6 separate regions of the Homo sapiens genome follow, and all the other regions are linked to region 6. The links are contacts of gene promoters, found by promoter capture Hi-C in blood cells and fetal thymus (Javierre and others, 2016). All regions are on one chromosome and are shown on one strand. Each heading gives the region's core, a stretch centred on a gene start or on the middle of the fragment in contact. The rest is flanking DNA. Distances are from core to core; before and after follow the strand shown.

Region 1 (4,114 bases), core at 1,590-4,089, 380 kb before region 6:
AATAAATCATCTTTGAGAACATGGTGATTCATGTTGTTTGTTCTCTGATCACAGTTTCAGCTGCATGAAGGCTCTGAATCAAGTGTGTACTCAATGCCATTGGAATCCCCACCTCCCCTGATGAAGATGAGTGCTTACAGGAGATCCTAAGGACCAAGGAGAGGGCACATCTGAGAGGGTGTCAGAGAGGGTAGTATTGGCATGTTTGGTTCAAAGCAAGGAATCATTTCATTCTAGGTATTGGCAGGTCCACCTGCACTGGGGAGCAAAAGCATCCCCATTTCTTCTCATCCCTCTTACCCTAGACTGCCCAGTTACATCCTGCCCTGAAGAGGTGGAGCAGATATCTTTCCCAGCCCTCTGCTGTGACAGAATTGGTCTGTTCTCTCACCTACTTGATTTCCTATTTATAGGTAACAATTCTTGAATGCCTGCTGTGCACCAGCCATTGTATTGGGGGATTTATTACGCTATTGATAATGTTTATGAAAACTTCATGAAGGTCATTATGTCTAAAGTCGACTGTAAGAAAATGTGAGAGATGTGGACAGAGTCATATACTATATGTTTATCACATTTTTTATAGTAGAAGAAAATTGGAAGCAACTTAAAATGTGAAAAAGAGGGGCCAGGCGCGGTGGCTCACACATGTAATCCCAGCACTTTCAGAGGCTGAGGCCGGCAGATCTCTTGAGCCCAGGAGTTCAAGACCAGCCTGGGCAACATGGCAAGGCCCAGTGTCTACAACTATACAAAAATTAGCTGGGCATGGTGGTGCACGCCCAGCTATTCAGGAGGCTGAGCTGGGAGGATCACTCAAACCCAGGAGGCAGAGGCTGCAGTGAGCTGAGATCACGACACTACACTCCAGCCTGGGGGACCGGGCAAGACTCTGTCTGTCTTTAAAAAAAAAAAAAAAAAAAAAAAAAAAAGAATGGAATAGGTAGATGAATAATATGCTTCATCCATATAACAGAATACTTGAGGCATTATTCGAAGAATATGTAATGCCTCAGGAAATACTTAGAATGTGCTATTAAATAAAGAATGCAAAATGTAAGATCATATGTTTAATACGATCCTATTTTTAAAATTACATATATGTGTATGTATATCAGTGTACACACGTGTGTATAGATACATACCTACACACACACGTATGTATAAAAAGAGCATCTATTCTGCTGTATTTCAACTTCTAAAAACATAGGTGTTTCAAACACCACATTAAAAAAACAATTATTTCAACGGGAAAAAAGTGAGTTAAAGGCTAAAGAATTTTAGACTCACAATAATAAAGGTATTTTCCCTGCAATCCTTTCTATAATTAAAATGTGTCTATAGCTATGTGTGTATTTTGTTGTTGCAAGAAAAAAACAATAAGCTGGTTGGTCAAAATGGGCAAAGGCCAAACAACATCCCTCATTTACTTTTAAGTAAACCTCTCAGGAGCTTCCCCTCTGTCACCAGTGGCCTCGACCTTCCAACCCCCCAGTGCACAGCAGACTGTCACTGCACAGGCACCCCAGCCCACCCACAGATCACACCCCAGCCCGCTGACAGATCACACCCCAGCCCGCTGACAGGTCCCACCGCAGCCCACCAACAGATCCCACCCCGGCCCGCGGACAGATCACACCCCAGCCCGACAGATCACACTGCAGCCCACCAACAGATCACACCCTGGCCCATAGACAGATCACACCCCAGCCTGCTGACAGATCACCACATAGGCACCCCAGCCCGCCGACGGATCACCACACAGGCAGCCAGCCCACCGACAGATCACTCCACAGCCTGCCGACAGATCACACCCCGGCCCACCGACAGATGACTTCACAGGCACCCCAGCCCGCCCACAGATCACCGCACAGGCACCCCAGCCCGCCCACAGATCACACCCCAGCCCCCCGACAGATCACCGCACAGGCACCCCAGCCTGCCCACAGATCACACCCCAGCCCGCCGACAGATCACACCCCAGCCTGCGGACAGATCACTGCACAGGCACCCCAGCCCGCCCACAGATCACACCCCGGCCCGCCGACAGATCACTGCACAGGCACCCCAGCCCGCCCACAGATCACACCCCAGCCCACTGACAGATCACACCCCAGCCCGTCAACAGATCACACCCAGCCCACCAACAGATCACTGCACAGGCACCCCAGCCCGCTGACAGATCACACCCCAGACCGCTGACAGGTCACACCACAGACCGCCAACAGATCACACCCCGGCCCACCAACAGATCACTGCACAGGCACCCCAAACTGCCCACAGATCACACCTCAGCCCACCGACAGATCACTGCACAGGCACCCCAGCCCGCCGACAGATCACACCCGAGCCCGACAGATCACACCCCAGCCTGCCGACAGATCACTGCAGAGTCACCCCAGCCCGCCCACAGATCACACCTCAGCCCCCCGACAGATCACTGCACAGGCACCCCAGCCCGCTGACAGATCACACCCCAGACCGCCGACAGATCACACCCCAGACCGCCGACAGATCACACCCCAGACCGCCGACAGCTCACACCCCAGCCCGCAAACAGATCACCGCACAGGCACCCCAGCCCGCTGAGAGATCACACCCCAGGCCGCTGACAGATCACAGAGCGCCGACAGATCACACCCCGGCCCGCCAACAGATCACACCCCGGCCCGCCAACAGATCACACCCTGGCCCGCCGACAGATCACCGCACAGGCACCCCAGCCCGCCCACAGGTCACCGCACAGGCACCCCAGCCCGCCCACAGATCACCGCACAGGCACCCCAGCCCGCCCACAGGTCACACCCCAACCCGCTGACAGATCACTGCACAGGCACCCGAGCCTGCTGACAGTTCAAACCCCATCCCCCCGACAGATCACTCCCCAGCCCGACAGATCACCGCACAGGCACCCCAGCCCGCCGACAGATCACACCCCAGCCCGCCCACAGATCACCGCACAGGCACCCCAGCCCGCCCACAGATCACACCCCAGCCCGCTGACAGAGCAGCCGGGGCTTGCTGTGCCTCGCCATTGCCGTGCTTGACAAGTCGTGGAGTGCCAGCTCCTGACCTGGGTCCTGTTACAGTTGCTGTCATGCAAGCATAGTTCCTTGTGCTGTGCTTAACTTGCTTCATGGAAACCCACTCTCGAGAATACGCCTGTACATATGAGGAAAACAGAAATCTGAAAAGATAACATGTCTGGGTGCTAGGATTAAGGTGCTTTTTGTTTTCATCTATATTTCTGTATTTTCCACATCGAGTATTAATTACCTTTATTATAAGATAATAAATGCTGTACATTTTTAACCACATCCCTTCTCCCCAGTTCCAGGTGAGTGTCAGCCTGGCCGTCTTACAGCTCCCGGCTGTCCATGGCCGATGTCACCCCTAAGAACACATAATCTAGGCTGAGTCGGCTCTGGGTCTTCAACTTCCCTGTGGATGCCCCAGTTCTCCAAATAAAAGCGATCTAATAATAGCAGCTCCAGACCCTGCTTTCATTTCTCATATACTGTCATCTTTTGTGTATACACAAAGTCCACCCTACAAATGATGATGGCCTTTGGAAAGCACGCAGGCTTGCTGAAGAGATTTGCTCTTCTGTGTGTGTCAAACCAAACAGACTGCGGCCTCTCCTTCAACAGCATTTCATCAAGTCAAAGTATGATGTGTTGGTTCACAGGCCCAACCTAGAGCACACCAGGAGTTTGTAGGTTAAGGTAGTAAGTGCAGCTGTGTCTTGGCACCTGCTTTGACTAGAGGCCAAACCTCTGCTAATTTTAACACTTCCTGGCTGATCTTAATATGGGAGGCCCACGGGCTGGGCTAAATCTGGAGGTTGGCAGGGAGCAGAAATTTCCAAGCAAGCAGGTGGTATAGTGGAGACAGCCTCACACCCGAGACGGAGGCCTGGCTTTGAGTCCACATCCTGCCCTCACTACCTGGCCATCTTGGACAGGCAAGGCCACCTCTTTCCCCAGTTCTAGACACTGGTAAGAGCTCCTCAAAGGAGTGTGGAAGGAGGAAAAGATGTGTAAGGACTTGGTAAGCTGTGAAATAATACAGATGTAAGGGAATTCTAACCATTATTACTTAGAATATTCTTTTT
Region 2 (4,606 bases), core at 163-2,662, 340 kb before region 6:
CATGAGCCACCGCGCCCGGCCGATCCCTTTTTTTCATTTGTTCATTCATTCATTCATTCATTCATTCATTCATTCCAGACACATTACAGCCACAGAGGTGAGGAGGATTCAGGTCCTGCCCGCAGAGACAGTTGCACATACAGCCAGCCACACAAGGGGCAAGAAGTAGTCTGTGCTGGGCCACAGGGGCAGCTCTCAGGAGGCTCTGTATTGACTTCACGCCCACGCTGTGCTACATTCATCACAAATCTGACAGTATGCAACAAAAAGCAGGCCACAAAATAATGGATGGTATTAACAGCAGAGTCAAGATGTGGGAAAATGGAATAAAATGAGCTCTCCAGGTACCATCTATTTTTTAGAAAATGGAATCCATTCATTCAGGAAGCTTGATGGATAAATGAAGTAGGCCAGACAGGGAGAATACAAATAGCAGCAGCTCCTGTGGGAAGCCTGCCAGCCCCTCGCTGAGTGCATGATCTACACCATCACATCATCCACTGAACAGCCTGTGAAGTTGGTACTCTGATGATTCCCATTTTACAGATGGAGAAACCATGACACAGGAATGATGTGGCTGGCTTACAGTCACAGAGCTAGAGCCAGAACTCAAACCCGGGTCTGTCTCACTCCGAAGTTTCTGCTAATGACAGCATGGAAAAGATTCCTCATTTCCACCAGCTTCCTTTTAATCAAGGCAGATTAGACATTCATGCATTGGCTAATCTAGGCTTTGAGTGTAGTGACGTTTATGTAGTGCCTACAAAGCAAGATTAGCCATTACACGTTTTGTCGTTCTGGAAACTGACTCTTGGCAATTCCCAGCCAGGCTTTATCTCAACATACTTCCTGAAATCTCAGGCCATGTGTATTTTGCCTACAGAGTGGCTCTGAAAATAAAGTAGGCTGGAAGTCAGGTGACTGATGTCATCCTGGACTCGTAGGCGATTAACAGTATGACCTTGGAGAAGTCACCTTCCTCTGGTTTCAGTTTCCCATTTGAAAATGCAAGAATTGCAGCCATTCTACCACTAGGACTAGAAGAGACGTACCTGGGCATTAAGAGGCATGCTCAGTGGGAACAGAGGTGGGTGGATTGCCTGAGGTTAGGAGTTCGAGACCAGCCTGGCCATCATGGTGAAACCCCGTCTCTAGTAAAAATACAAAAATTAGCTGGGCATGGTGGCGTGCACCTGTAATCCCAGCTACTCAGGAGGCTGAGGCAGGAGAATCGCTTGAACCTGGAAGGTGGAGGTTGCAGTGAGCCGAGATCGCACCACTGCACTCCAGCCTGGGTGATAGAGCAAGACTCCATCTCAAAAACAAAACAAACAAACAAAACAAAACAAAAAAACTCACAGAAGCATGCCCAAGGATGCTCATGGCAGTGCCGCCTGTGAGCATGAGAAACGGGAGGCCACCTGTGAGAATGGAGAATAACCCTGGTGACCATATGTGGCAGCAGGTCTCCAAGTCAATCCCTGTGATCTCCACCTCCTGGCATCCCCCCAGTGTAGTCCTCTTCCACACTGAACCAGGGAAGATCTGCTTGACCAACAGCATATGGCAGAATTGTTACCAGTGGAAGGTTGGAAGGTATCTGAGTTACCAGCGGTGAATCCGTGTGGGTCTGCAGCAACCTCAATTCTTGCCTCCTCAGAAGAAAGAATTTGACTGACGGGCCTAAGGCTGAAAAAGAGAGGAAGGCAAGAGGAGGAGTGGAAGGTTTTTATAAAGCCTTTAGACCAGGAAAGAAAGTACACTGGGAAAAGACCCCAAGCGGGCGACGTCAGAACAAGTGCAGCGTTTAACCTTGATCCGAGGACTTTCTGGGCTGGCCCCTTTCTCGTGATTCTCACCTTAGGGTGAGCTGCCTGCATGTGCAGTGCCCTCCTTACCCTTACACAGTGTGTATAGGAAGTTGTACACATACCCACCTGAGGCTTTCTTCCCTTTTCTTGTGGGGTGCTCCCAGAGGGTCATACTCTGCCATTTTGTCTCTTAATGCACCATGCCTGGGAAGTTGTGTCTCCCTGGCACCTGCATTCAATGAACACTTTAGTGCAGCAGGTGTGGTCCATGAGGAAATGGCCTCTCCCTGGCACTGGCTGCCAATTTATCACTTTTAGAGAGGCAGTGTGATCATTGCCAAACCATCACCCAACATTCCCCCAGAGCCCTCTCCTGCCCTGCTCATGCCTGTCTCACTACCTGTAACAGAAGGAATGGCATGGCACTCCCGGGCTTAGTAAAACCTAAGCCGCTTCCATCTTGGGTTTTCTCTCTCCTTGCTCTTGAATCCCTTGCCCTGGGGAAGCTGCCTAGTTGTGAGCAGCCCTGTAGAGAGGCCCACGTGGAAAGGAATTGAGTCCTTTAGCCAACAGCCATGGGCGTTAGCCATCTTATCTGTGGATCCTTTAACCCCAATCAAGCTTTCAGATGACCACAGCCCTGCCAGCTCAGCTGCAACCCCACGACAGGCCCTGATCCAGAACCACCATGAGGGGCTGTTTCAGGGCTCCTGATCTCAGAATCTGTGTGAAATAATAAATTGTTTTTGTTTTAAAGCTGCTAAATTTGGGGGGTAATTTGTTATCCAGCAATGGATAACAAATACACCCCATACTATAGGATATTATGGAGCAAAGAGTGGAACAGGTCTATGTGTACTGATACAGAAAGATTTCTGAGATATGTGTTAAGACACCCTTAGAATGTGTTGTTAGAAAATAATAATTACAAAAAAAGATATACGGCTATATATCTTTTATGTAAAATACCACAACTCACTATACTTTTATGCATTTACATATGCAAGTAGATATGTAGCAAATTACCCATCATGTAGCAATGATGAACATCAATTTACCCTCAGTAAGAGAGTCAGAGGAAGGTGCAAAGTGGAATTTTCATTTTCTATTCAATAGATTGCTCTCTCTCTCTCTCTCTCTCTCTATATATATATATAATATATATATAATTTTACCATGATAATGTGTCAATGTATTACTTATACTCAATTTAAAAATTCTTTAAACGAAGGCATTTGAGTACTTGATCACTGAGGTCTCTTTCAACTCTGGTGTTTTATAGTTCTATTAAAATGTCATTGGAATGTAAATTAAAAGAATGGGATAACATTTATCACCTCTTTGTTGGAAAACATTAAAAGTTTGATAAACCAATGTTGGCAAAGATGTGCTGGGATTTAAGGGGAGGGCAGGGCTGGCCTTTGAATCCAGTTATATTGACTCCCAAATCTAGGGCCCTTCCTGTTATTTTACCTTTGTGCCTATAGTTTACATGCAGGTGTCTGTGTTAGAGGAGCTTGTCTCTGGTGGATATATATATGTATATATATATATTTTTTTTTTGAGACAGGGTCTCTCTCTGTCGCCCAGGCTGGAGTGCAGTGGCACGATCTCAGCTCACTGCAATCTCTGCCTCCCGAGTTCAAGTGATTCTCCCGCCTCAGCCTCCTGAATAGCTGGGGTTACAGGTGTGCGCCACCATAGCCTGGCTAATTTTTGTATTTTTGTATTTTTAGTAGAGATGGGGTTTCACCATGTTGGCCAGGCTGGTCTCAAACTTCTGGCCTCAAGTGATCCGCCCGCCTCGGCCTCCCAGTGTCCTGGGATTACAGGCATGAGCCACCGCTCCTGGCCTGGGTGGACATTTAAACTGTGGCTCCTTGGAGCTCCCTCTGTTTTTGCTGAGGACAATTTCTCATTTCCCATTACTTATAAGAGACAGGCTCTGTGAGAGCCTCCAATTTGCCAGCTGCTTCCACTTCACAGAACAAAATCATCCTGTTGAACTCATCAGTCTGAAACTACTTCCACCTCTGAGCTCCGGGGCCTGGTCCAGCCCAACTAACTTGACTGCCGAGGGCTTTGCTCCGTCTTGGGATGGCTGGGGCCTCCCTCACCTGACCTGGGTGTTCAGCTGTGATGATTGAGCTTCGCTGTCATGAAACTTCCCCAGAGTTGGTGCCACGCCTCCCCCTCCCTCCAGCTTGCCACACCACTCGGGCTGAAGGATCTGCCTGCCCAACCCCGAACATTTCATCTTGGGTTGGTCTGCATAAAGACGGCCTGGGGAAAAAGTGATAGCATCACAAATTATACACAGTAAAATGCCTCTGCATTATCTCGCTTGGAGAAAGAAATAACTGATACTGGCCTAAGGCTTTGAACAGGAGTTTTATGGGGAGCTAAGAAGAGGGGTTCTCTGGCTTTGCAGGAGAATCACCTGTGCTCCCCTCTCCATTCTGACGGAATGGTCTGGGGGCTTGGGCATGGGTATTGTCTGAAAGTGCCTCAGATGGCTTTAATAAACAGCCAGGGTTTGAGAACATCTGTATTGGAGGGAAATGTGAAAAGGACATTGAGGTCAAATGGATGGGATTAATTATGTTTGCTAAATCAGGAAACTCTCTAGAGAGGGAAGTGACACGCCCACCGTTTTGCCTACTGTTGGAAAATTAAAGTTTCATCTTAACAAGGGCCATCTACACTGGGCTGGGTGTGAAGGCAAACTGGGATGTCAGGGCTGTAACGAGAAGCAGAAGAGAGGGGCCCAAGTCCCAACCCGTAGCTCCTGGGAG
Region 3 (4,444 bases), core at 1,050-3,549, 280 kb before region 6:
TCACTGTAAATCATCTCAGAGCTTTGCACAGCACAGGCTTAAAGTACACTGCGATGGGCTTAAAGAGGATTTTATTAAATTGCGGTGTCTTAGGAATGGGAGCAGATTCAGGGCCCTTGAGAGAGAGACCCATGCTGCTGTATGGATATCTCGGACCACTTGAGTCCTGGCCAGGTCTGCAATCCTGACCCTTGAAGCAGCGGCTTCTATATTTGGCCTTCCTCCCCGTACCCATCTCTTTTCATAGCATTCCTTTGCTCCAGCACTAACCAGGAAGCACTCTCTATACCTCCAACCCTTCTAGAAAGAGAAACAACTCTCCAGAACATTACCAGCAACATGTCTACGGGAAATGAATCCAATTTTATTTTTAAAATGCCAGTTCTGCAGAGCAATGCACCACACTTGAAAAACAGCATTCTTAAATATACAAGTTGCTGAATGAGTAGTTTTGGAGTGTTCTCATTGCCCATGCAGTGGAATTTGTTGGGTTTTCCCAAAATAGAAAGGAACTGGATGGAAGATTAGTTGGTGTATTATGTATCCATTTCTGCATAACAAATCACCCAACCTTTAGAGGATCCAGAAGGCAGGGGCAGCTTGAGCTGGACAGTTCCTGCTTGGGGTCTCTCCAGAGGTTGTGATCAGATGTCAGGCAGGGCTGCAGTCCTCTACAGGCTTTTCTGATGCTGGAGGACAGTGTGGCTCACTGTCATGGCGGGGGACTGGGGACTGGCTGTTGGTGGGAGCCTCAGTTCCTCTCCAGCCTGCAGGGCTGCTTGAGTGTCTTCCCAGTACAGTGGCCAGCTTTCCCCATACTGGGTGAGCCATCCAAAGGCCAAGGAGGAAGCTGCAGTACCTTTTATGACCTAGCGTTGGACGCCATGCACTGTAGCTTCTGTCATTTCTGTTTGTCATCCAGAGCAGCTCTGATTCAACGTGAGAAGGGAGACCACATAGGGTTTGAATGCCAGGACATTAGAATCATTAGGGGCCATCGTGGAGGCTAGCTGCCACCTGAGAATCATGCGTTCTGCCTATAACACACCCAGTCGATACCAGCATTTGGTCCAGCTGGGCCACGAAACTGGTTACTTCCCGATGCTATAAGGGCCATATTTTGGATTCATACATCAGGACTCTGTACCACCGTAGACAAGACATTCTTTTGCTTCTGTGTGTTTAAACTATTTCTCTGTACAACAGTAAATCATTCTTACCCAGGTTGTGTCTAGGTTGGAGTGCTTTGGTGCCTGCAGGGGTTGCTTTGACAACTAGAATATTTGTTGGGGATCAGTTGAGCCTAGCATCTGTTTGAGCTTCTCATACTAAATACAGTCCAAAGTGGTTGTTATCTCTTTCGATTCTGAGTGTCCCATTGCATGTGGCATTTCTCAGGAAAAGGAACATCATCTTTGGCTAGTCAAGCTTCTTAATAGCAATGGTAGAAAGCAATTATGCTAATTTAAAACAAAAAGAAACTTCCCAATCTTGGATGTTTTACCATATCACTGGGAAAGATGCAGGACTGAGCTTATAAAATGGGCTGGAGCAGAAAGGCTAGCAGCACTCAGGTTTACACCAAACCACAGCTCAGAACCAGGCAGAGAGGATGCCGCTGTCACATCTGCTGGGAAACAGAGCCTCAGCTGGCATGGCTGCCACTCCACTGCCACCAGCACCTGTGACGCTGGGCACTCACACTGCTGCCCCTGCTGCCACCCCTCTGTACAATGTTACCATCACAGGTCCAGCCATCCCTGCAATGTTTTTCCTGGTGACCCTCCTGCCTCCCCTCAGCAGATCCTAGCACACATCTGGGGCAGGTAGGAATCTGACTGGCTGAGTCTAAGCCATGCTCTCGTGTCCTAGCTGCAGGAGACACTGGAAAAAGCACAAATCTGGCCTTCTTGGCATCCATCGTGGAGGAAGGGCTCTGCTTCCTACAAATACTCGTGAGGTAGTAAATTCACAAACACAAGAAGGGTTCCAGATGCTGGGCCATCAAACCAACAACAAGCACAAAACAGACAAATGTCTGCCACAATTAGTTGCTACCTAGAGAACAACATTTTGGCTTGTACCAAAATGTTTCGTTTCTTAAAAAATACCTGGAGAGTGTGTGAGAAGTTGAGCTGGGCTCTCTGATTTGTCAAAAGATCAAAAGAATGTCTAAAAAAAAAAAAGCCCGATAAAAAATAACAACATCAAAGCAAGAAGAAATATTTGCAACTCTATAATAAAATAAAAGGACAAATAGCCCAATTAAAAAACAGGCAAAGGATATAAGTGTTTATTCTTTTTCCAAAGGAAATATACAAAGTGCCATTGAGAACATGGATGATACTCAATGCCATTAACCATCAAGGACATATAAACCAAAACCACAATGGGATACCACTTCATGCCCAATAGGAAGGCTATAATAAAAATGACAGATAACAATAAGAGTTGGTGAGGATATACAGAACCCTCATAAACTATTGGTGGGAATGTAAAATGGGGGACACACTTTGGAAAACAGTCTGGCCATTCTTCAAAAGAGTAAACAGAGAGTAACCATATGACCTAGCAATTCTATTCCCTAGGGATATGACCAAGAGAAATGAAAATATTTGTCATTTTGTACAAAAACTTGTACATAAATGATTAGAGCCACATTATTCATAATAGCCAAAAGGTAGAAATAACCCAAATGCCTATATACTGATGAATGGATAAACAAAATATGGTACATCCATACAATGGAATATTATTTGGCCATCAAAAGGGATAACGTGTTAATACATGCCTCAACACGGATGAACCTTGAAGGAAGTGAAAGAAGCCAGTCACCAAAGGCCACGTATTGTATGATTCCATTTATACGGAATATCCAGAATAAGAAAATCTATAAAGAGACCCAGAGCTTAGTGGTTGCTCAGGGCTGAGGGGATTGGGGGCTGAGGGTGATAGCCAAAATGTATAGGGTTTATTTCTGAGATGATGAAAATGTTCTAAAATTGATGTTGGCAGTGGTTGCACAGACTGAATATACTGAACCATTGGATTGTATACTTTAAGAGGAAATACTTGCTCATTTTAGAAAAGTAGAAACAGAGAAAATTAAAACTACTCAGTGTTAACATTTTGGGGCATGTCCTTTCATTCCTTTTCTAGGCAAAGCTTTTTAATGTTTTTGAGGATGGTACATATTGAATTTTATGCAGCCTTTTTGTTGAAGGTGAATGTTTCCTGTGTTTTTATCACACTTGGCAAGCATTGTTTTCAATGATTGTGTAACATATCTTACCAAATAGATGCACTATAGGCTCCTGAAACGTTTCCACTGTTGGGCATTTAAATTATCTTCATTTTTTTGTTATCATAAATATGTTTTGGTGAACATCTTTGTTATGAGGTTTATTTGAGATTTTAAAGTTATTCCTTGGGATAGATTCAAATGGTGAGATTGTTGGGTTAAAGAGTTTGAATACTTTCAGGACTCTTGTTACTTAGTGTCAGCTTGCTTTGCAAAGGAGATACATTCTTGCAAAGGAGATGCACCTTCTTAGAAGATGTCATTTAAGAGAAAAAATATCCCACGTTCCCCTCCCCCCACAAAACCCCCCTATGGCCTAAACCACACTCTCTTTTCCTCCCATCCCCTGCTTTTTTCTTCTCCCTCCTCATTTCTCTTGGTAGTGGATTTGCGCTGTAATATATACAGTCAATACCGGTGGTTTATTTCATCCAGGCCCCTTAGGTGATTGCTGTCTGATAACATTAGAGACAACATATTGGATTTTTTCAAGGCATAAATGTACAAGGACAAATAGTACAGCAGAAGAGACAACAGCAACAAAATTTGGAAGCACGGGTGTCCTCACCACACCCAAGTCTTTTATATCTCTTTGTAAAGTTTTATGTTTTATTGATTGTTAACTAATTAAAATTAAAATGAACAATTGACGTTAATTTCTACATTTTGGTCTTATTTTCATTGTCCTGTGTGAAAGGAAACTTTCACACATATTCCTGAACTGATCACTAGATATGTGTGCATGAAAGTTATTGCTTTTTATGCTTCTTATGTATTCTATTACTTCATCAAGCTCTTTCATTAATTCCAAGAATTTTCCGATGAGTCTTAGGTTTTATGGGATGATGATTATACCATCTGCAAATTATAACTGTGTCTCCTCTTTCTTTTCTATAGCTACACTTTTTATTTCTGGTTTATATGCTTTGGTCCCACATTTTAGAAGAGTGTTAATTAACAGATATTCTTGCCTGTCCTTGACTTTAATAAGATTGTTTCTAGTAACGGCCATTAGGTGTTATGTTTGAAGTTGGTTTAGAAGAGATATTATCACATAAAGGGAGTATATTTTCCCTTTATTTCAGAAATCGATGTAAATGTTATCAAATGTCTTAACAGTCCTTACTGAGATGTGCATGGAGT
Region 4 (4,519 bases), core at 1,235-3,734, 450 kb before region 6:
GCTTACATATTTGGGGTCAGAAATAACCGCTGGGGTCAGCATCGTGTTCTCTATGGTTGAAATAAGGAGATAATCAAAGTTGTGATTACATGAATCACGTGGTTTATTGCTACACAAAGAGATTTTGTTTTCCTTTGGTTCACAATGCCTAAAAAGGGGCAGAATAATGAGAACAATTCTCTCAGGGAATGCATTAGCCATGGAGTGAGTGGCTTCCAAAATTACTAGAGTCTAGTCGCTCAATTAGGCGGGAAGCAGCCCTCTGTGGGAAGTAAAGTCTAACTAAAGTGTGAGGGGTACCTTTACACAGGTGGCCATTGGGAGAGATGACCCACACAGTGGAGATGCTGGACAACACGTTAGATTCCCAGAGCATTGGCTGGCTGGCGCTGGCTGGCAAGGGTTCTGAGATTTGCTCAAAGGCTAATGGAGTGTGACCCCACTGAGCTCTCGGTCTTTGAAGAGGCGGTTAAGAGTGTGGCCTCATTTTGGCATAAACTTGCCACCTGAGAGAGGTGGCTGGCAGTGTAGCCCTGCCATAGCCTGAGGTCTTAGAATGTCAAAGCCTTGAGTTTATACGTAATTTGAAGCCCAGTAGTTGAGGTCATATACGGGGTCTTATAAGATTTGATGATGTAACATTTTCTCTCAAGGGGAAGGAGAGTTCACTCCAAGTTCTTATCATAGAAAAACATATGACACTCACGTAGCAAACTATGCAAGTATTTGGAATTGTTTCAGAGCCACGTAACACAGTGTATCTGGACCTATCATCTGTTAGAGCCGGAAGGGGAGTGTTGGACTATTCTTGCACTGGAATTTGGCTTTTGACTGGACTTTCAAGGTAAAGAGTAAAAGTGCCCTGACTGTATAGATGAATCTTACCAAGTGTCTTAGTTCAGGCTACTGTAATAAACACCATAGATTAGGTAGCTTATAAACAACAGAATTTATTGCTCACAGTTCTTTAGGCTGGGAAGTCCAAGATCAAGGTGCTGGCAGATCAGGTATGTGGTGAGGGCCTACTTCCTGGTTTGCAGATGGCCGTCTTGTATCCTCTTATGATGGAGAGAGCAGAGGTAGGGAGAGGTGAGGCAAGCTCTCTCATGTCTCTCATAAGGGCACTAATCCCATAATGAGAGCCCCACCCTCATGACCTAATAACTCCCCCAAATCCCCCGAATACCATCCCACTGGAGGTTAGGACGTTGATATGGTTTGGCTGTGTGTCCCCACCCAAATCTCATATTGAATTGTAATCCCCATGTGTTAGAGGAGGGGCTGGGTGGGAGGTGATTGAATCATGGGGGCAGACTTCCCTCTTGCTCTTCTCGTGATAGTGAATGAGTCCTCATGAGATCCAGTTGTTTAAAAGTGTGTAGTGCTTCCCCCTTCTTGTGCTCTCTCTCTTTTGTTCTCACTCTCTCTCTCACTCTCTCTCTCACTCTCTCTCCTGCTGCCATGTGCAGATGTGCTTGCTTCCCCTACACCTTCCACCATGATTGTGAGTTTTCTGAGGCCTCCTGGCCATGCTTCCTGTACAGTCTGCAGAACTGTGGGTCTATTAAACCTCTTTTCTACATAAATCAACCCAATCTCAGGTATGTCTTTATAGCAGTGTGAGAACAGACTAATGTAGACATCAACATGTAAATTTGGGTGGGGGCCATACATGCTGTCCATAACAGTAAGGGTGCCTCCCACATCCTCTGCTAGTCCGTGCCACCTCCGGAGCTGGTATTTGGGCATGGGTTGAATAGGAAGGATTAGGCTTTCTCTATTGGGTGGTGCTAACGTTGCCTATAGACTAATTTGCTAATTTTGAGAACTAACCACTGGGATTTGGCCATAATTCCATGCAGAAGGAATCAAGGAATCGAAGTTGAGATGAGGTAACTCTGCTCAAAAGTGTAAATGCTTTATTGTCACCATTGATTTCTGGCTGGTCTCAGAAATTCCCAAGAGCTGCTTTTAGTGCACATTAGCTACAAGTCAGAATCTCACCAGGGCTGCACCCTCTCAGCCTGTGACTGTAAAAGGATGACTCACCTGTGTTCATGTACTCCAGAGAGCCTAAAGATGTCTTGCAGAGAGGGTGTTGCTCCCTAGACCAGCACGTAGGGCTCGGGAGATGTCGCCTTATGCCTCCTGGATGGGCTTGTATTATGTCTGCCACAGAATCTCCAGAAGCTGGGAGGGGTCCTCATCTGGGAGAAGTCCATAGGGACTGTTGGTGAATACAGCCAAGCCCAGCCCACCCCAACTCTGTGAGGGGAATGGAATGGAAACGCAGGCTCCCATTGTGAAACTCACCTATGTGTCCTGGCCCTGGCATTACCCAAGATAAACTTAGGAGATTCATGTGGGCTTGGCCTCAGTCATGGGAGTGTTTTTGGGAAGGGGCCTTTGTCTTATCATCTTGGCACATCTGAGCTTATCTAGTAAAGAATTCCACAGTTACTTCTTCAGGACCTGCTAAGGGCCAGGCTCTGAACAAGCCACAGACCCCACCCTCAAGAGGTATATAGCCTAGAGGGCTGGCCCCATGCCTGCAGCTGAGCGGCTGAGCACACTGTGAAAGCGTCCGTGGCTGCACTCCTGCGACGTGGAGGTACCTTTGCCAAATGTGACTGTGGACAGAGATGAGAGATCCGTAAGCAGCAGGCCTTATGTCCTTCCTGCTGCCTATTCTGACTCTGGGGGCCTGGTTCCCTCTCCCTGCCTCCACATCATTTTCCGCCTCTTAGAAGGTCTTAGCCAGACTCTCTGCTCGACTTTCAATTTCATTTCACATCAGACGTAGTCTCCTGGGTCACTAGCAGCTCCAAGCTCTGCAGCCAAGGGACTGTCTACCCGGGAGCTTTGCAGCCAAGGGACCGCCTACCCACTTCCATGTCCCCAAACTAACTGATGACTCTCTGTCTCCAGCTTTCCTGAGCACCTGCTGTATGCTAGACATTGGACTAATTTTAAAAGCCGAACTCCTTAGCCTGACACTGGGGGCAGCTACTCCCTCCCTGCACCCACCTCTCCTCTCACCAGCTCCCCTTGTACTTTTGTTTCAGCTGCACTGAACCCCTGGCTGTTGCCCACACAGGTGTCTTCCACACTTGGGGCCCTTGAGGATGCTCTCCCTCTGTCTAGGATGCTCTCTCTCTGACTAGGATGCTCTCTCTCTAGCCCATTTTTCTTTCTTTCTTTCTTTCTTTTTTTTTTTTTTTTTTTTCCTGAGGCAGAGTCTCACTTTGTTGCCCAGGCTGGACTGCAGTGGTGCAATTTTGGCTCACTGCAACCTCTGCCTCCCAGGTTCAAGCAATTCTCCTGCCTCAGCCTCCCAAGTAGCTGGGATTATAGGCACCCGCCACCATGCCTGGTTAATTTTTGTATTTTTAGTAGAGACGGGGTTTCACCATGCTGACCAGGCTGGTCTCAAACTCCTCACTTGTGACCCACCCGCCTCGGCCTCTCAAAGTGCTGGGATTACAGACATGAGCCACTGCACCTGGCCTCCAGCCCACTTTTCTATATGCCCTGCTCATTCTTCGAGGCACAGGTGAGATGCTGCCAGTTCCATAAAGCCTCTCTGAGGGCCGCCTGCACCCAGCTGTGGCCCTCACTCCTCAGGCTTGGAGGACAGACGCTTCCCATGAATGCGTGTCTCCCTCTGCAAGGCTATGACCTTATTAGTCAAGGACCAGGCCCTTGACTAGTAAAATATTGCCCAGCCTCTCCCCTCCTAGTCTCACAAATCCAGTCTAGGTAGGGCCTGGCACGGAAACCATTCCTCCAGCCAGTGTCCAGCTCTCTAATTACATCTTGTAGTTTTAAGGCTTGGTTATTATTTTCAAATGATGGCATGAAGCGGAGGGAACTGAAGTCCCTAGCAGGAATAAAACCAAATCACTTAAATTTCCTGGGAAGATAACTTGCTTCTCTTATTGCCATTGTGGAGATAGACTAAAATGTTGGCAAAGTTTCTGTCATTGAGGTTGACTTCTGGCTCCATCACTTACTGGCCAAATGACTTTGCGAAACATACTTAAACCTCTTAAAGCCTCTGTTTCCTCATCTGTGAAATGGGGAGACACCCAGCATATGGGCTATAAAACGAGAACCTCCCCTTCCATGGCATATTTGAGATCTGGGACTCACATGTTGCTATGCAGGCAGAAAGGGTGTGTCTGATAAAGCCTGCCTGCCAGTTCTGACCTGCAAGGGTTTATGACCCCTCTCTTCCTCCTGTTTGAGAATCACTGGCCTTCAGGACCTACTTAAGGGTACTCAGTAAGTAGCTGAGAATACAATGATGTCATGTACACATGACATAATACTAAGCACAGAGCAGCTCCATCAGAGCCCTCTCCCTTTCTCCGTGTCCGATACAAGCCATAACTTTCCTTGGTGCTGTGAAGCCAAAGCAGGCAGTATTTACAGAGCACGGAGAGGTTAAATGTAGAGTGCGCAGCAGCACCACCTCTGAAGCCAGAAGGAATTTGTCCTGGCCTAGAAAGGGAGTGTG
Region 5 (4,260 bases), core at 425-2,924, 310 kb before region 6:
GCTTTTATTGTATTACTCTTTGGGCTTTTCTATATTCTTTAAGTGATTTTTTAAATAAGTAATGTATGTTCATTGTAGAAAATTAGAAAATGCAAAAAAGTATAAGGATAGAAATGAAAAGCATCCACAAATACACTGTAAACATTTTGCTATTCTTTCCAGTTTTTACTTACAAAAACCAGATAGGGATCATACATACAGTTTACATTTTTACAACCTGCTTTTGTGGCTTGCTATGATATTGTAAATAGTCTTCCATCCATTAAATTGTTTTGAGGAATATCCTTTTAATTCACTATATAATGCCTCTTACGGTGGTACTTTTATTTAACCAATGCCCTATTGGTCTTTCAGCTTTGTTACTGTTATAAATAACGGGGGTATGAATACCTTAGCATAAGAGCTTCGATGAGGCGACTTCCTTCTGTGCTTGGATGTAGCAGTGTCCTTGAGTTTTGGGTCACAAGGCATGTGATCTTGTCTGTCCCACTGGGCCTGGGATGGGGTGGCTTGGGGGTGTGAATGAAATAGGTCTGTGTGTCCAGTTAAGTTCCCGGAAGCCAAGAAGGCCTGGGCAATGGAGCTCATAGAGTGAGCTTGCAAGCTGTCCCCCGTCCTCCCTTCATTTATTCAGGCCAGGCAGGTTTTCAGGACGTTGGGCGACCCTGGGGCAGAGACATAGGGCAGTCAGAGATGACGGGGCCTGGTCTAGATGGGAGAGGCAGGAACAACCACCAATCTCACAGGTTAGGGAGGGAAACCCAGAGAGCTGCAGGCGTTCCGAGGAGGGCGTGATCAGCTCCATGCGTGATGGCAGCTGGGAAGAGTTTGGAGAGGAGGTTATATAAGAATGGGTGTTTTGTTTTTGTTGTTGTTGTTTTGTTTTTATGACTAGCTTTATTGAGGTCTATTTTACAGATCATGAAATTCAATCATTTTAAGTGTAAAATTCAATGACTTTTAGTAACTTACTGAGTGGCACAACCATCACCAGAAACCAGTTTTAGAGCATTTTCACCCCCAGTAAGATCCCTCACACCCATTTACAGTTAATCCCCATCCCTACACCCACCCCTCGACACCCTCATCTACTTTGTGTCTCTACACATTTTCAGGTTTAGGTTACATTTTGAAGGATGGAAACTGGACTTTCAATTAAGTCAGTAGCAAGGGAAGCACAAAACCAGGGGATACGGTGGTGCTGCTTTCCAGCAGAAAAGCAGTTCAAAGCCCGGACTGCGCCTTCTGGAGCGAAATTCAAATGTGGAAGCTTCGAATAGTCAAGAGCTCTGCACCCCCCGGAAGTACGTGTTCTACCTTTGGTCAAGTAAAGCACTTCTTTCCTTTCACCTCTTGGGCGCCTGGATTCCTTTCTTCCTGCGTTTCCTAAGCTCACTCAAGTGGAGGCAGAGCTGTCGTTGGCTTTGAAAATACATTTGGCTGTGGGTTCTCTGGCCTGGCACTCGTGGGAAAGCTGGGCTGGGGAGTCTCAGCAGGATCAGGGCATGAGGGCCTGGAGGCCTGGCAGAGACTGTAGAGGACGCGGTGGCAGAGTGATCTCAGTGAGAGTCTTCGCTCCCTTCGTGTCATCTGACCTGGTCCTGCTGTGAAGTCCTCAGGACCTCTGCCCACCTTAGAACCAAGCATTTTTTCACCCTGAAAAGGGGTTGAGCAGACCATCTGTGTTCAGTCTGTCTGCCTTTACATAATCAGGTGCCTTTCAGATGCCTTGTACCAGATTCTTCAAAAATTACATTACAAAGTTTCCAGAAATAATGCAAGCTCAATGCAGAAAAACAGCACAATAAATAACAATTCAAAGTCAACCCTAAGATCTCATCCGAAGGTCACTGCTGCTGCCTTTGTGGGTCTATACTTCCTTTTATTTATGTATTAATTTCCGTGGCATCTTGTTGGCTCCCATGAAATCCCCAGGGCAGTGGGAGAAGGTGCCTTCGATCATCAGGGCACAAGCCTGGCTCTCACTGGCCTGGAAGGCCCGCAGCCTGGGGCTCTCACACTGCCTTGGAGATGGGCTGCTCTGGTACTTTGAACCCGCTGTTTAATGTTAAGCTTGGTTTTTCCCTTTGATGTGAGTCAAGTGCTCAGCTCTGGGGAGACAGTCCCTCCGCCTGGGGCATTATCTGCTATGTAAAGGAAAAGAGTCAACCTGAAGCTATCAGCAGCTCTAAATTCTCTAAAGACGATCTGGGCAGCAGGTTGCAACACATCTCGGGATCATTCCATCTTTGTAGAAGCCATTCCCATTAATCATTTATTAATTACTCTCCCAATTGAGACAATGAAGTAGATGTAGGATTAAAAAAGAGGCCCATATTCATTTCCCATCTGAGCACCCTGAAGTTCATGGATCCTGGAAGAATGTGAAAAATGGACTCCATTCTTCTTCTTTCTACTTTGCATTTTTCTCTGGGTTTGGCTTCAGCCACAAAGGGAGCCCTAGGAAGGCAGGGGGTTGGGGGGGAGGTTGTGCACTGGTGTGTGCAAGAGTGTACACATGTGTGTGACACCCAGTGGTCCAGGCTCAGAGGGGAAGGACACGGACCCTGTGAAGTCTGAGGAAGGCTTTGGGGCAGGAGCTGGGGCAGGGCAGGGGCTGCCTGCAAAAGGGGGAACCCAGAGAGCCGAGCCTGTGTGCTAGGGCTGAGGGTTAGAGAAGGGAAATAGGGCAGCAGCTCCTTGGGCTTGTCCCAGAGGGCTGGACGGGTCCTGACTCTGAGCTGGAGAGCAAGGGACAGTGGGATGGAAAGGATGTCACGGGGCATCTCCTGACCCCAGGGAACTGTCCTGGGTCCTGTAGGTGTATGCTCCCATTTAATCCTCCCCCATACTCTGGGAGTCAGGTATCAACCACCACATTTTGGACTTAAATTAGGGCTCAAAGAGGTGGAGTGACTTGCTCAAAGTCACACGGTGGATGAGTGCGGGGTTGGGATTGGAGTCCAGGTGTTCAGACCTCAGCGTCTTGGCATTTTCCCTGATCCATGCTGCCATTAACGCAAGCAGCCCAGCCTGGCAAACTCCAAAAGTCTGTCTTGGAAGTAAAAAAGCCAAATAATGTTGATTTTCTGCTGTTTTGGGAATCAAGAAAGACTTCTCCCTTTTTTAAGGGATAAAACGTGCCCCCACCCCCACTTTTTTTTTTTTTTTCAGGGAATACAGATGATGACTGAAGAATTTCCAGAGAATCTAGTGGAGGTGGGAAAGTGTCCTTCTCCAGGGAGGGTCCTGAAGATGGGAGCAGATTCCTGCTCTCCAGCAGCCCCTCCTCACCCAGGCCTCAGTTTCCAGGGAGAACATGTTCAGCCTTCCTCCGTGAGAGGGGCTGGGAGGCAGCGAGGGTGATGCCCCGAGGGTAAGTGTGGGGCGACGGGGGCAGCTGGGAGGCAGCGAGGGTGAAGCCCCGTGGGTAAGTGTGGGCGGGCGGGGGCAGCTGGACTGAGTCACCGGAACCTGCAGTGAAGAGAGACTGTGGATGCCAGCGCCCGAAGGCAGCGGTGTTCAGAGTGAGGGCTGCAAACCCCTGCAGGTGGAAGAGGTCACCAAGGGGCCTTGAGCCCTGCAGGTTTTGAGGGAATCATGCTCTGATTCTCAGCCTCACAGGCATGACGATCTTTCCTAAACTCATCTCCCTGGGATGCACTTGGGTTGACGGTAATGCTTCCCCTGCCTGGAGAAAGCAAGATACCCATCGTCCTGTGAGAAATAGGGAAACCCCTGGGGTGCTACACAAAAGGGAGACTTTTTTTTTTTTTAGATGGAGTTTTGCTCTTGTTGCCCAGGCTAGAGTGCAATGGCTCGATCTCGGCTCACTGCAACCTCCACCTCCCAGATTCAAGCGATTCTCCTGCCTCAGCCTCCCGACTAGCTGGGTTTACAGGCCTGCGCCACCACACCCACCTAATTTTGTATTTTTAGTAGAAATGGGGCTTCTCCATGTTGGTGAGGCTGGTCTTGAACTCCCGACCTCAGGTGATCCACCCACCTGGGACTCCCAAAGTGCTGGGATTACAGGCGTGAGCCACCATGCCTGGCCGGGGAGACGCCTTTTAAGGACTAATCAAGCCATTAAAACACCCTGGAGTACAAAACCGTTCCTGGTCTTATGCATATTTCCGTTAGAGGTGAAGTCTCACTTTAGAAATAGGGAATTGGGACTCAGGCTGGGATATTCTCAATCCAGAAATGTAGTAGAGTCAGGTAGAGGGAGTAATAACTGTTTTTGTTTAAGAATTTTAA
Region 6 (4,441 bases), core at 217-2,716:
CAGCACGGCGTGGCAGCGCAGCATCACGGCCTTGTGCTTCAGCTCGTGCCGGTACACCCAGGCGAAGACCTTGGGCAGCCGCGCGTCGGCCACGCAGTAGGTGACGCGGTGCAGCAGGTAGAGGTGGCCCGGGCGGCGCAGCGCGCGCTCCTCGGCGTGCACCATGCGGATACCCTGCGCACTCACCGTCAGCTTCATCTTGGTGCCCTGACGGCCCGCCTCGCTCTTGCTCCAGATCTTGCCCACAGCAAGGTCGGTGCAGCCGTCGCCGCGCGCCTGGATGGTGGTGGCATTGCCCAGGTAGAGCACGGTGTAAGTTGGGTCCTCGCTAGTGATGTGCAGCTTCTTGCGCTTGGAGCGGAACATGCTGCCCACCCGGCTAAGCGCGCCTTCGGGGCACGCCCGCGCCAGCGAGCTGAGCGCCGAGTAGTGCAGGCTCACAGCGTAGCCCTTGGGCTTGGACGCCTGCCGCGGCGGCGCCTCGGCCAGCAGCTCGAACTTGTGCTTCTTCCACGGCAGCATCTCCGGAGGGCGCCCCGGCGCAGCTGGGCGGCGGCGGCGGCGGAGCGCCGGGTGCGAGGCCCGCTGAGCCACCGGCCCCTGCCAGGCTCGGCCCGGGCAAGATCGAAGAATAAAACTACTGGGAGCGGCCCTGTGGTAGGGAGTTGGGGGGAGGGGAGCAGAGAGAGTGCTTAGGAACCCCGCAGGAGGTGCGGGTAAATTCTCTAAAAAAGAAAATATTCAGCTTCGAGTGTGCAAAAAAGGTTGGTGCGGGGGAGACACGCGCGCACACAGAATTACCCCAGCCTGGGCAAGGGCGAGAGCAAAGAGTCTCAGGCAAGCAACAAAATGCAAGGGAGAAAGAACGAGCGTAGAGTGGAAAATGTCAGGAAAAAAGCTAGAAGCGCGCGTGCAAATAAAGAGAGCCCCAGCAACAGCACCCGGGATGGTGCAAGAATATGCAGGAACTCCTCGGCGAACGTGAGGTGGGTCCCCTAACACACACAACCCTCAGGACTGGGGCCAAAACCCGCGGAAACTCTACAGCGAGTGTGCCTAGGGGCCGGTGCTCCCCACCTCCGAGGGGTGCTGGAGATGGAAAGCCCCCCGTTTGGGCTGGTCTCAAGTCAGCAGCTCGCCCAAAGTGCGGTCGGATGCTGGGTCCGGCTGGCCGCGGCGGGCCCCGCGCAGCAGTCCCGCGGGGACTCACTGCATCTTCGCTCCGCCGGACGCCGGGGACTCGCGCTCGGCCCGCTCAGTGTCCGGGCTGGCCTGGCCGAGACGGCGCTGGGCTCCGAGAACAGGGGACGGGCATGGCCGGGTCCGGGAACCGCCGCTACCTCATTTCTTCCCTCCGAGGCGGTGTCCAGCTCCGCTCCCGGGCTCTCCACGGTCTGCTGCCCGCCTTTGCAGTGCGCCCTCTCCGGTGCTGCGAGCGGCGTCCGGCTCGCCTGCCTCACATCCTTGCCGTCCGGGAGGAAGATCTCGGGTAAATATAGGCCGGCGCGAACCATTCGCCGCGCGGGGACAGGGGAGGAGCAGAGAAGAGGATCTGTTTTGGGCTCCGACTCCGGGCGGATTCCTGGTTTCTTAAAGGGACCGCGTGACAGCCATTGGTCGAGGGAGCGGGGAGACCGGTCCAATCCTCCAATTACATCCCAAATTTACCAGCATCTCTTTTGTCTATGGAAATCACTGGGACCTGGGGTTACCCCGCAGCAAAAAGATTTGAATCCTGACACTCCACCCCCCAGGCTGAATTGCCACTCACTGAATACATGTATGTCTAGATCGAAACTTCTGAGGGAGGTGGCAGAAGATGAGATTACAGATTATAATTTCCTGTACAAAAAGTTTGGGAAAATAGTGGTTTCTTCCTTGTGTGACGGCTTTCTGAGAATGACTGGGTGCTGTTTAATATTATTTTCAGAATTGTATTCCATTAAAGAAAAGAGAGAGGCACAGAAAACACCAAGGCTTATCTCTCACTATCTTGAGCTCGTATTCACAGGTAAGCAGCAGACAGTGTAAAGTGAGGTGAGTGGTAACATGATTGGGGTGACTACTGTAGAATACCGTCAATGAATAAGGCTTTTCCCCGTCCGAACCCCGGCAAGACCCCCTCCTGCTGTCAGGCCTCAGGGTAGAGCAGTTTTCTGAGATACACACAATTTCTAATGCTCGTGTGTCGTTAGGACTTAGTTTACTTTGGCAAGCCGGTCATGCGGTTTCATTCTATCATTGACATATTTTGGATGAGAATTCCTAGTAAAAATTCAAATGACGTTTTTTATTTAAGTGACAAATAATGCCAGGCCACCCTCCAATGGGAGTGATAATTGCATCAGTATTGCTTTTATCATGTGCCAACTGGACAGTGTAGTTGTCTTCTGACCGGCTTGACCCTTAGCCAGTAACTCATTTCTGGGCCCTTGAAACAGCCTGCTTGCCTCTATGGTATGGTCAGTCAAAGCAAAAAGACGTATGGCTGGAGTGGGATCAATGTCCGAATGATCCTGCATCAAACTCCCAGCCTGGTCCTGGAGGAGGACAGTGATCCCTTCCCACCATCCCAGTCCCCTGGGGATCTTTGATGTCTCTGGCTTCCACGCCAGGTCTTCATGCCAGAGTCACTGCAACCATACCTGGAAATTCCCTTGGGATATTCCAACAAAATAAAACTGACCCCTGCCCACCCTCTACCTTTGCCAACTTTTAACCTTCCTTTGAAATCTAACTCAATTTTCTCAGAGTCGTTGATGCTGAGTTTCCATTTAAGTTACTTTGCTGAGTTTCCATTTAAGTTACTTTTCTGACTACCTTTTGGTGCCCGGCCCTGAGCTAGGAGCAGACGGGATTCCTGCCTCCTAGTCCAATGAAGGTTGTAAACTCTACCCAACTCTGGGTTTCCACTGGACTGTGGGTTCTCTGCAAGTACCCTGTATCCCCAATATGGTACAAATAGGCACTCAGTAACTAGAATTAATGAGCAAGATATGCATGTGGACAAGAAGACAGAGTGGGCTAAATGCTATGAGAAAGACTCAAAGCACTATGAGAAGCTGGAGGAAGAAAGCATTCATTGTGACTAGGAAAATCAGAAAAGGCTTCATGGAGGTGGTGACCTTTGAAAGATAAACAGAATTTATCCAAATAGGAAAAGACTGAAGGGCTTTATGGGTATAGAGGGTAGCAAAATTACAGAAGCATGAAAATGCATGCATAAGGCCAGGCGCGGTGGCTCACGCCTGTAATCCCAGCATTTTGGGAGGCTGAGGCGGGTGGATCACTTGAGGTCAGGAGTTCAAGACCAGCCTGGCCAACATGGCAAAACTCTATCTCTACTAAAAATACAAAAATTAGCTGGGCATGGTGGTGCACGCCTGTAATTCCAGCTACTTGGGAAGTTGAGGCAGGAGAATCCCTTGAACCCGGGAGGCGGAGGTTGCAGTAAGCCGAGATCGCGCCACTGCACTCCAGCCTGGATGACACAGTGAGACCGTCTCAAAAAAAAAGAAAGAAAGAAAGAAAGAAAATGCATACACATGTAGTAATTAAGATGGAGCTTGTAACAATCAAAGAATAAACCTTCCTGATTGTGTTTTTTGGCTCTCTTACACTCCAAGGGAAGGAATGGCCTCTTCATGGCTAACTGGCCCCACAGGGTCCTTCAACCAGAGCTATAATGCCTTACTCCTCAGCTGCACTGATGGGTTAATGGAGGGATACCAGACATGCTGTTGGAATGAGGTAGTTAGTACTATAATAAGCCATTTAAGGCAACATTAATTCCTTAAATTTCTAGGCTATCTTGTAGTGGCAATGAAGGAGATAGCACACGCTCTAAAGAACAAAAACTCTGGTAAAAACATATCAAATGAGGCTGTGTTCAGTGACCTTTAGTAGGTCCATAATCTTGAACTCCACAAAAGCAGACATCATGTTTAAGCAGTGATCATTTCCAAATCGCTCAAAGTTCCAAGGCTCAAGAGGGTTTGGGGAAGAGGAAGAGGGAGTAGTAGCAGGAGCTAAGGCTGGTCTCAGCCTCAGCGAGAGGCACCACTTTGCACTTCATGCAGTGGCATGGACCCCAGTGGCCCACAGAGGCAGGGAGGAGTCTACTGGTGGGCCGGGCTGTTCAGCAGCAGCCGGAGTGCCAGTCCCAGCGGCACAGGCCCACAGAGCTGCTCCTGTTGACGAGGCTATGTCACGCCTTGACCGCCTTCCTAATAAGCTTGTTTCCAACCTTGGGAGAACAGAAAGGTTCTAGGCCAGTGTGAACACCCTGGTGTGAGTCATGCCCTGGAGGAGAACCCGCGGTCCCCTTGTGGCCTGGACCTGTGCCAGCCTCTAGGGCCCGCCTCACCTTATGGAGAAGCTGACCACCCCACCTGAAGCACACATCACAATTAAGGCTGCGTTTCTTCAGCTGGGAGAGCTG

The links. The method cuts DNA at HindIII sites, captures the fragments that hold promoters and counts their contacts. A CHiCAGO score of 5 or more calls a contact.
Region 1: a fragment that was not itself captured here is called in contact with the fragment with the promoter of FAM43A in region 6 in 2 of 17 cell types (total B cells and naive B cells); the score reaches 7.5 in total B cells.
Region 2: a fragment that was not itself captured here is called in contact with the fragment with the promoter of FAM43A in region 6 in 4 of 17 cell types (endothelial precursors, monocytes, naive B cells and 1 more); the score reaches 13.2 in endothelial precursors.
Region 3: a contact is called between a fragment that was not itself captured here and the fragment with the promoter of FAM43A in region 6, in 7 of 17 cell types (monocytes, endothelial precursors, M0 macrophages and 4 more). The highest score is 7.5, in monocytes.
Region 4: a contact is called between a fragment that was not itself captured here and the fragment with the promoter of FAM43A in region 6, in 7 of 17 cell types (naive B cells, total B cells, neutrophils and 4 more). The highest score is 10.4, in naive B cells.
Region 5: a fragment that was not itself captured here is called in contact with the fragment with the promoter of FAM43A in region 6 in 5 of 17 cell types (naive B cells, endothelial precursors, M2 macrophages and 2 more); the score reaches 7.1 in naive B cells.

Annotation. Positions count from the first base shown.
Region 1 is chr3:195,064,189-195,068,302 of GRCh38, reverse strand. XXYLT1 (xyloside xylosyltransferase 1) reads left to right here. Exons shown (of 4, transcript NM_152531.5): 4 at 1-19. Among named protein-coding and RNA genes, the nearest start is that of XXYLT1-AS1, 28 kb to the left of the region's middle. The HindIII fragment of the contact is 7,527 bases long and covers 1-4,114 here.
Region 2 is chr3:195,025,259-195,029,864 of GRCh38, reverse strand. No RefSeq gene overlaps it. Among named protein-coding and RNA genes, the nearest start is that of XXYLT1-AS1, 67 kb to the left of the region's middle. The HindIII fragment of the contact is 2,044 bases long and covers 391-2,434 here.
Region 3 is chr3:194,968,563-194,973,006 of GRCh38, reverse strand. No RefSeq gene overlaps it. Among named protein-coding and RNA genes, the nearest start is that of XXYLT1-AS1, 120 kb to the left of the region's middle. The HindIII fragment of the contact is 1,737 bases long and covers 1,431-3,167 here.
Region 4 is chr3:195,137,565-195,142,083 of GRCh38, reverse strand. The region is part of intron 3 of XXYLT1 (xyloside xylosyltransferase 1); the gene reads left to right. Among named protein-coding and RNA genes, the nearest start is that of MIR3137, 5.2 kb to the right of the region's middle. RefSeq lists enhancers at 2,041-2,540, 2,541-3,042. The HindIII fragment of the contact is 5,122 bases long and covers 1-4,519 here.
Region 5 is chr3:194,993,304-194,997,563 of GRCh38, reverse strand. LOC105374294 (a long non-coding RNA gene) reads left to right here. Exons shown (of 4, transcript XR_924873.2): 2 at 1,116-1,304; 3 at 3,175-3,376. Among named protein-coding and RNA genes, the nearest start is that of XXYLT1-AS1, 99 kb to the left of the region's middle. The HindIII fragment of the contact is 803 bases long and covers 1,273-2,075 here.
Region 6 is chr3:194,682,908-194,687,348 of GRCh38, reverse strand. FAM43A (family with sequence similarity 43 member A) reads right to left here and starts at 1,466. Exons shown (of 1, transcript NM_153690.5): 1 at 1-1,466. The coding sequence starts at 522. LOC124909474 reads left to right here and starts at 440. Exons shown (of 3, transcript XM_047449428.1): 1 at 440-1,489; 2 at 1,931-2,011. The coding sequence starts at 1,096. RefSeq lists enhancers at 1-119, 120-625, 1,377-1,736, 4,422-4,441 and a silencer at 447-636. The HindIII fragment of the contact is 4,459 bases long and covers 1-4,236 here.